Linked DNA regions of Homo sapiens: region 1 is linked to region 2. The links are contacts of gene promoters, found by promoter capture Hi-C in human tissues and cell types (Jung and others, 2019). All regions are on one chromosome and are shown on one strand. The core of a region is centred on a gene start or on the middle of the fragment in contact, and the rest is flanking DNA. Distances in the headings are between cores, read along the strand shown.

Region 1 (4,709 bases), core at 2,159-4,658, 1.1 Mb before region 2:
CCGTCTCCACCAAAAAAAAACGAAAACCAGTCAGGCGTGGCGGTGCGCGCCTGCAATCGCAGGCACTCGGCAGGCTGAGGCAGGAGAATCAGGCAGGGAGGTTGCAGTGAGCCGAGATGGCAGCAGTACCGTCCAGCCTTGGCTCGGCATCAGAGGGAGACCGTGGAGGGAGAGGGAGAGGGAGAGGGAGAGGGAGGGGGAGGGAGAGGGAGAGGGAGAGGGAGAGGGAGAGCACTCTTAAGTTTTATACTTCAATACTCCGTCAAATCGAAGACAGAAAACGCAATGCATGAACCAGGCGCCGCCTCTCCCCGCTGAGAAAATGTGCCAGGGCTGTTTGGCCTTTGGTGGGAGAGCTAGACAACGCCATCTAACAGGGACAGCACCGAGCTGACCACCCAGTTTCAAAATTTTGAGCAGTCACAGTAAAACCCAAGTGAAATTCATTTTAATGTTTTATTAACCTAGCATATTCAAAATATTATTTCAACATGTAAATATTTTTTTACTCTTCAGGCCTTGGTTTTATTTGCATTTCTAGAAATATACACACACTTCTAACTCTGTGCTACAAAAATTATACAGCAGTCCCCGTTTATCCTCTGGGGATCTGTTCCAAGCCTCCCAGTGGGTGCCTGGACCCCACTCTACAATAAAGGCAACATGTAAACAATACCTTTAACAGTGAGATATAGATAGATAGATAATTTGGTATTATGTTCAAAGCCCAGTGTGTTTTGGATACTTTTTTTTTTTTGAGACAGAGTCTCACTCCGTGGGCCAGGCTGGAGTGCAACAGCACAATCTGGGCTCACTGCAACCTCTCCCTCCTGGGTTCAAGTGATTCTCCTGATTCCTGAGTAGCTGGGATTACAGGCACCTGCCACCATGCCTGGCTAATTTTTGTATTTTTAGTACAGACAGGGTTCACCATGTTGGCCACGCTGGTCTCGAACCCTGACCTTGTGATCCACCCGCCTCAGCCTCCCAAAGTGCTGGGATTACAGGCGTGAACCATTGCGCCTGGCCTTGTTTTGTTTTTTTTTTTTTTTTTTTTTTTTAATGAGACAGTCTTGCTCTCTGTGACCCAGGCTGGAGTGCAGTGGTGTGATCACAGCTCACTGCAGCCTTGACGTCTCCTGAGTAACTGGGACCACATGCATGCACCATCTGTCTGGCTATTTATTTTTTTTGAGAGACAACGTCTTACTACATTGCCCAGTCCTATCTCAAACATCTGGGCTCAAGCAATCCGCCCACATCAGCCTCCCAAGGTACTGCGATTACGGGCATAAGCCACTGGGCCCGGCTGGATACATCTCAGTTTGGACATTAAATTATCAGAACTTTGTTTCTCAAGACTTTAAAAATTAAAAACATTTTTTCATTAGAACACCTGATCTGCAGATTCACAGTTCACACACCCAGGTTCCTAACGTACCTGTTTTCCACTGACTGAACCAAGTTAGTGGTTTTTAAACTTAACCACACCGAACACTGTGCTGGCTGCGTTTTCCTTGCTCCACAGCACACGAGGCCAGAGGTGCTGCAGACGCAGGGAAGTGGCTTGTCCAAGTGCAGTCCCAGACCAGACGTGTCACCCGGGCAGCTCCAGGTGTAAACCTGAGTCCACCTCAGACCACAGAACCAGGGCCTCGGGGTGGGGTCCAGCACCCTCCCGTAAGGAGCCCTGTGTTTTGACACAGGCTAGGGCTTGGGAACCGCCGGCCTAGGACAGACACCATGAAATAAGCATAGCAACGGTCACATGTCACCCACCGTCAGGGATGTGCACGGCCAGGTGATTGCATTGTCGTGCAAGCATCCTACAGGGACTTACACAGAGCTCGATGGTGCGGCCTCCTCCACACCCAGGCTGTAGGGCATAGCCTGTGGCTCCCAGGCTACAAATGCGTGCAGAGTGCTACTGCGCTGAATGCTGTAGGCCACTGCGGCACGGCGCTGCGTGTTTGTGCTTCCAAACCTAGGCGTGGTGCGGTCCAGCTTGCTGGGAGGATTCCATCCCAGTGTTCTGTGGGACTGCAGGGTGACTAGCTTGTTCTTAAGTTTTTTTTTTTTTTTTTGAGATGGAGTCTTGCTCTATCACCCAGGCTGGAGTGCAATGGCACGATCTCTGCTCACTGCAACCTCTGCCTCCCGGGTTCAAGCGATCCTCTTGCCTCAGCCTCCCAAGTAGCTGGGATTACAGGCATGCACCACCACGCCCGGCTAATTTTTGTATTTTTAGTAGGGACAGGGTTTCATCATGTTGGCCAGGCTGGTCTCAAACTCCTCCAAATACCACAATGTACCCCATCAATATGTACAATTATGTCAATTAAAATAAAAGCAAAAAAGTTTGTCAGATTAAAAAAAAAAGATATAGTGAAAATACAGTATGTTCTGCGATCACCAACATATACACGGTCCGTCATCGACAGAAACATCGTTCCCCTGACTGCAGGTCTGACCACCTTTTTGCAGAACGCCAACAGAATACAAACCCTTCCCGTTACATTTTTAGATGGTGAAAGCAGAAAAAAAAAAGGCAGTGGCTTGTGTTTTTGTGAACTGTCTCAGCGGGACATCTGGTGGGCACAGCTGGATGGCCAGGGCAGTTCAGAACAGGACAGAACTTGGGGGAATTTTGTTTCACCTTATTCCCTGACACCCCCTAAGTTCCCAGGAAATCACTGCACTCTTGATGAGCAGAGCGGCTGTCAGTATAAATCTAACACCAGTATTTACGTTACCCGTGTTCATCACTTCACAAAATCAGACGGTGGTGGAAAGTGTCAGGCCACGAAGGCCGCATCTGTCATCTGAGCCACAAAGGACTGTGCACCTCACTACCCCCCTTCCCTCCCGTTTTGGCTTTCTGCTCTTCAAACCTATAAAACCCAGTCTCCTGTAATCTCTGGCACTTGTGGAAGCCCTAGTTCCTGCCATTGTAGTTTTAAGTCACTTCTGGAAGTTTCCACTGCTTCATCACTGGACAGAGCCATCTTCAACAGGTGGCATTTTGCAACTTTCTTGTTGGTGCTGAAATAGATCCAGGTGCAAAGCAGCTCTCGGGCTTGCTGGCTGCTGACAACTGTGCCTTTTTTTTTTTTTTTTTTGAGATTCAGTCTTGCTCTGTTGCCCAGGCTGGAGTGCAGTGGCACAATCTGGGCTCACTGCAACCTCCGCCTCCCAGGTTCAAGTGATTCTCCTGCCTCAGCCTCCTGAGTAGCTAGGATTACAAGCGTGTACCACCACCACACCTGGCTAATTTTTGTTTTAGTAGACATGGGGTTTCACCATGTTGACCAGGCTGGTCTCAAACTCCTGACCTCAGGTGATCCGCCTGCCTCCGCCTCCCAAAGTGCTGAGATTACAAGCGTGAGCCACTGCGCCTGGCTGAACTGTGCCTGTTTTAAGAAGTTGACCGTGGCAGGGACAAGTGGTCCAGGAAGACACACCTTCTCTCACACAGTGTCCCAGCCCCTTGGAGGTCAGGAACGGGCACGCAGCTGTGCCCTCAAACAATGCGAGTAGCACCTGTGGCCGCCGCTGGACAAGAACCCTCGGCCAGGCAGGTGGATGTCCTTCCCCCTTCTTGGCCAGATAGTCACATCGTTACAGAGGTGACATGGTGAAGAGCGCAAGTGAGCTGTCTGGTGTTTGCTGGTTTTGAACTCCTGACCTTAGGTGATCCACCCACCTTGCCCTCCCAAAGTGCTGAGATTACAGGTGTGAGCCACTACGCCCGGCCTAGTTTGTGTATTTCAGTGGGGAAGTTTCAAGGTTTCAGGCTAACCATCTTCACTAAAATATAAAAGATTAGCCGGGCATGGCAGTTTGGTGCCTGTAATCCCAGCTACTCGGGAGGCTGAGGCAGGAGAATTGCTAGAACCTGGAAGGCAGAGGTGGCAGTGAGCTGAGATTGTGCCACTGCACTCCAGCCTGGGCAATAGAGCAAGACTTCATCCCTTTTAAAAAAAAAAAAGCAAAGCCAGCCAGCATTGAAGCTGGGGATTCCCGTGAAGATGGCCCGGAGGTGCTGCTGGGCCATTAGAAGTATGGGGAGTACCTGAAGGCGGAAGTTACCTAGAGTGGAAATAACCCACACGGCAGTGCAAACGGGAAGGACCTCATCACTTTCCACCAAAAAGAACAAAGAACAGCTCTTTTCAGGTTTGTCTTGATGATGCAGGAATGTTGATCATGTCAGAGGATCTTGGAGGGCAGAAAAGGTGTTTCAGAAACCAGCTGTATGATGCTGCTGCTGCCGAAAGGTTGTGCTGGAGCGAGCTGCTTCTGTAACTTGGGGTCCCAGTCCTGTGTCCTTCATCCATCCTGACGAAGTCGCACCACTGGAGCATCGCGTCACACTGTGCAGTTACACACAGCAACCTTTCCGTGTTCACCAACCAAGAGCTGCAGCACCCCACACAGACGAAATTGCGTTCACATGAGCCGGGTGAACCAGTACCCGAGTCGCTGGGCCAGCCCGCCAGGAGCCAGGGTGAGGAAATCTCCCAACGGCCTGGATTCAGAGACTGTCATGGGTGAGCACCTACAGAGAGGGTGGATGGATCAGCTCAGCCTCCATGTGCTGACCGCAAGAACCCACACAGCTTCCTGCAGGTAAGCAACTACCACTGGCCTGGCCCAGGGATGGACGCCAGACACCACCAGGTGCAACAGTTGAGGCAAATACAGATGCT
Region 2 (4,756 bases), core at 1,643-4,142:
TCCCTCCACACGCTGAGAGATGAAGTTGTTCAAAGATCTCAGGGTGGATAAAACCATGGTGTTTTCCCCCAGGTCTTCCATGGTTGCTTTCCTTCCGGGGACAGACAAAGGACTGGTCAGGGGCAGCCTTTCCACGTGCCATCAGCCGTGCAGTCAGCAGAGCCTCTGGACAGCCCCACTCCCCTAACGCACATTGGAGCTCATAATACACCCATGCCTGTAACCACATTCTTCAATGGCAACTGGGAGCCATGCTGCCAATTTACCAGACAAAAAATGGAAGCAAGGAAGCATGCCACCAAATCCCCACCAGCAAGCCACCAATTGAGTCTCAGTTGCACATGGACAGATGGACAGCTGGCGCCCGGGAGGCGGGGCTCAGCACTCAGGTGGCACGTCCCCCAACTGCACTGTAAGAGGGTTCTCCAGAGACACAGAGCCAACAGGACACAGAGACAGACACAAGAGAAGGGCTTTATTGGGGAAACTGACTCACGCGATTACAGAGACTGTCCCACAACAGGCCGTCTGCAAGTTGGAGCCCTGGAAGCCTGGCAGTGTGACACAGTCCAAGTCTGAAGGCCTCAGAGCCAGGGGTCCGATGGTGTAATTCTCAGTTCGAGGGGCTGCTGGGACAAGTCCTGGAGACCAAAGGCCGGCGAGCTTGGAGTGCTGCTGTTGAGGAGAGGAGAGGAAGAGTGTATCCCAGCTCCTGCAGGCAGATGGACACATTCGCCTTTTCTCTGTTTTTGTCCTCTCCAGGCCCCCAGGCTCTTAGATACTGCCCCTGACTCTGAGGATGGATCTTCAGCACCTGGTCCACTCAGACTCCCAAGCTCATCTCCTCTGGAAACACCCTCAACAGGCACACCCAAAACCAAAAATGATGCTTTCCCAGGTTTCTAGGAATTCCTGAATCCAGTCAGTTGATGCCTGAAACTACCTACCAGGAGCACTCACAGCAAAGTCTGGCCTCTTGCCCAGGCAGGGTGGTTCACGCCTCTAATCCCAGCACTTCGGGAGGCGGAGGCAGGTCCGGAGTTCAAGACCAGAATGGCCAACATGGCAAAACCCCACCTCTAATAAAATACAAAAACTAGCCGGGTGTGGTGGTGTGCGCCTGTAATCCCAGCTACTCAGGAGGCTGTGGCACAAGAATCGCTTGAAACTGGGAGGCAGAGGTTGCAGTGACCTGAGACCGCACCACTGCACTCCAGCCTGGGTAACGGGGTGAGACAGTGTCTCAAAATAAATAAATGAATGAATAAATAAATAAATAAACATAAGCCAGGCACTGTTGCTCATGCCTGTAATCCCAGCACTTTGTGAGGCCAAGATGGGCAGATCACCACAGGTCAGGAGTTCGAGACCAGCCTGGCCAACATGGTGAAACCCCATCTCTACTAAAGCCAGATGTGGTGGCGTGCACCTGTAATCCCAGCTACTCCGGAGGCTGGGACAGGAGATTTTCTTGAACCCAGGAGATGGAGGTTGCAGTGAACTGAGATCGCGCCACTGCATTCCAGCCTGGGTGCCAGAGCAAGACTCCGTTTCAAAAAATAATAATAATTAATTAAAAAAAAAATCTGGCCTCTGGGAATCAGAAACGAGGCATGCAACAGTGACAGTAAAGATGATGATCATCACAGCTGTGCTCATTTTCATTGTTTATTTCTAGTGACATTAATAAGTACTACTACTATTTTCAACTAGGTATCAGAAAGAAAGGTATCTGACATTTCCGAGCACCGAGACTTCTTGAACTTCAGTTTCCTCATCTGTAAACTCATGACAGTGAAATCTACTTGCAAAGTTGTGGGGAACGGGGCCAATATCCCTCAAGTCTTCCACCGCTAGATGATGGGAATACGGCTGCAGGTTGACCAGCACTATATTTGTAAGCTCAGTCTCAACAGGGTGGTGAATTAGGTCTTTTTACACAGATTCTAGAGATGATGAAACCGAAGCTTCAAAAAGTTACAGAACGGAGATTGGAACTTGGGTCTGTCTGGCTTTGGAAGGCTGAAGACAAACCGCAGTAAAGAACTTTGCACCCCCAACACCGGCGCTTACTATGGGCTCATGGCAGGCCGGCCCACCAGCCACAACTAGGGAACAGCCAAGCGCGTTTAAAAGCCAAAGGTAGAACTTCTGCAGCTGCACAGTTTCTGAGTTTCCATTTAACAAGAACCTTGGCCTGGTGCAAGCAGAGGCCTGAGCTCCCCAGGCTGCCAGCCCCGCAGAGGCAGGCCCGCCTGGAAGGAGGCTCCACAGCCCAATTCCTCCATTGCCCAAACGAGATCAGGGTGGCCCTTGCCATCCCCGAGGGGAAACCGGGCCCACACGCCCCCTTCCTGAGAGCGGACCGGCGCGAGCCACCAGGATGCCAAGAGCCCCTGCAGCCCCGACTTCTCCACCAGGCGCCAGCTCAGGCCCCTTCCTCGGCGCGCCGGCACCCTAGCCCGGGGACCCACACGGTAGGCAGCGGGACCCCGGGGCTGGGACCACGAGCACGCGCCCCTCGGCCGCCCGCCCTGGCACAAGGGACGGCTGCGGAGACCCAGGCGAGGGGCCCGCTGTCCCCAGCACAGCCCAAAGGGGGAGTGGGGACAGGGGAGTGGGGAGAGGAGGGGAGAGCACAGAGAGGAGAGCGCGCCCATGGGAGACGGGGCGGGCGCGGGGTCCTGAGGCACGGGGTCTGGGTCGTTGTGCCCCACCCTGGCGAGCACACCCGGTCCGGGCCCTCGGCCCCTCCCTTGCCATTCCCGGGACCCCCGGGACCCCGGGACCCCGCCGCCCGCGCGAGCCGGGCCGCTTACCTCAGCCGCTCGCAGCCAGCTTGCCGCCGCCGCTCGGATCTCCCTCCGCTCCGCCGGCGCCCATTTATCGCGACACTTGCGCCTGCGCTCTCGCGAGACCTGCGTGGCAATCGGGCCGTAAAGAACCGAGTCTGCGCACCGGCTGATCCTGGGGACTCCGCGTCCGCACCCGGAGCCGCCACCCCTGGGAGACTCCGCACGGAAAGGACTCGGAACCGAAGGCTGAGCCAAGGCGCAGTCGGGGGCCCCCCGGCTTTGCGCAGGACGCGCTTCCACTAAGGCTTTCGCCTCGCGCCGTAATGTGTGGAATAGCCGCGCCCACGGCAGCCTCCTCGGACAAACTTGCACCGTTGACTCTTCCCAAAATTTTGCTACTCAGTATCAGCTTGAATCAATCCGTTATTTTGCTTTTTTCTGGGCCCACTAGAAATGCAATTTATGCTACTAGGCTACCTTCCCAGTGCTCTGCAAGCCAGGGCACAGCATCCAATGGGGTGAGGTCAGGCCCCACCATTATTATGGTAACCTTTGTCTATCCTTCAAATTGGAGCCTTCCTGAGAAGAGTGTGCCTTACTCGTTTCCATATTCTCTTCCTCTCCTCCTCCCGTCTCTGCCCAGCCCCTGGCTTCCCTCTAAGAAGATGCTGTTCCTAAGGGTCTGCAATGAATTTTCCTTCTTTCAGAGAAAGACTTCCAAGTTGTGTGCCCCGGGAATGAAATGGAATAAGAGAACGAGGTGGAGTAGGGCAAGAGTCCCTGGACTTAACAACCTGACTGCAACCAGAAATAAAATGAAAAGTCAAAACATCTGGCGGCCGGGCGCGGTGGCTCACGCCTGTAATCCCAGCACTTTGGGAGGCCGAGGCAGGCGGATCACGAGGTCAGGAGATCGAGACCATCCTGGCTAACACGGTGAAACCCCGTCTCTACTGAAAATACAAAAAAAAAAAAAAAAAATAGCCGGGCGTGGTGATGGGCGCCTGTAGTCCCAGCTACTCGGGAGGCTGAGGCCGAATGGCGTGAACCCGGGAAGTGGAGCTTACAGTGAGCCAAGATCACTTCACTGCACTCCAGCCTGGGTGACAGAGTGAGATTCTGTTTCTCAAAGAAAAAAAAAAATCAAAACATCTGACCCGCAGTTTCCTTCGGGGAGCTGGACAGAGCCCCAGATTCCTGATGGAGATTCCTGGGTTTCCAGACTTCCCCCACTGGTCCTTGGAATTTAATCATAGTCAACAAACTCTTCTTGAGGGATGAGTACACCTCCAGGAAATGGCTTTGAGGAAGCCAGTTTAAAAAAAACAAAACTTCAAAGCATGAAAGTACCTTAAAATAATGCAATCTCTATTATTTTATTAAATATAAAGCTGCGTCAAGTTCCTAGATGAGTAAAAGAAAATAAACACACCACATCACTGCTTGCTTTGGCAATTACATTTATGTTCTTGGGAGCCCAGACACTGATATAAATTTCCAGCAAAAACCAAAGCAGACCCACTGCCTGGATAAATTCAGACCATACGTCTTCCCTAATTGTTCCGGGAACTTTTGCTGCTTGAAGAATGCGTGAATTGCTATATTGTTCACCAGAAAGACAGAAGTTAATCCCCAGATGGAAATTTCAGATTTTTCTTTTGGTTTGCTTTTTGGTTTTTCATTTTTGTAGACATGGGGGGTGTTGCTATGTTGCCCAGGTTGGTCTTGAACTCCTGACTTCAAGCAATCCCCCAGCCTCAGCCTTCTAAAGCCCTGGGTTTACAGGCATGAGTGGCCTCACCCAGCCCCCAGATTTTCTACTTTAAACAGCCACACTAAGAACTGGAAATCTGTGCGTGGTGCTCTCAGAGCAGGGGTGGAAAGCCTGTTTGTGTGTGACAGTTTAACAGTCTATAAGATGAAGTCCCGTCAAGGCACACATGGGCACACCCATCCCTGCC

The links. Contacts are between HindIII fragments. The study calls those that stand out against the background at their distance.
Region 1: a contact is called between a fragment that was not itself captured here and the fragment with the promoter of MAD1L1 in region 2, in 1 of the 25 tissues and cell types used here (dorsolateral prefrontal cortex).

The regions. Positions count from the first base shown.
Region 1 is chr7:1,147,787-1,152,495 of GRCh38, forward strand. It overlaps a transcript of ZFAND2A not described here. Among named protein-coding and RNA genes, the nearest start is that of ZFAND2A, 10 kb to the right of the region's middle. The HindIII fragment of the contact is 5,994 bases long and covers 412-4,709 here.
Region 2 is chr7:2,230,053-2,234,808 of GRCh38, forward strand. It overlaps MAD1L1 (mitotic arrest deficient 1 like 1), which reads right to left and starts at 2,893. Exons shown (of 19, transcript NM_001013836.2): 1 at 2,820-2,893; 2 at 497-675; 3 at 1-91. The coding sequence starts at 81. It overlaps MRM2 (mitochondrial rRNA methyltransferase 2), which reads right to left. Exons shown (of 3, transcript NM_013393.3): 3 at 4,143-4,756. RefSeq lists silencers at 2,392-2,811, 2,789-3,167 and enhancers at 2,802-3,096, 2,882-3,011, 3,746-4,278. The HindIII fragment of the contact is 16,776 bases long and covers 1-4,756 here.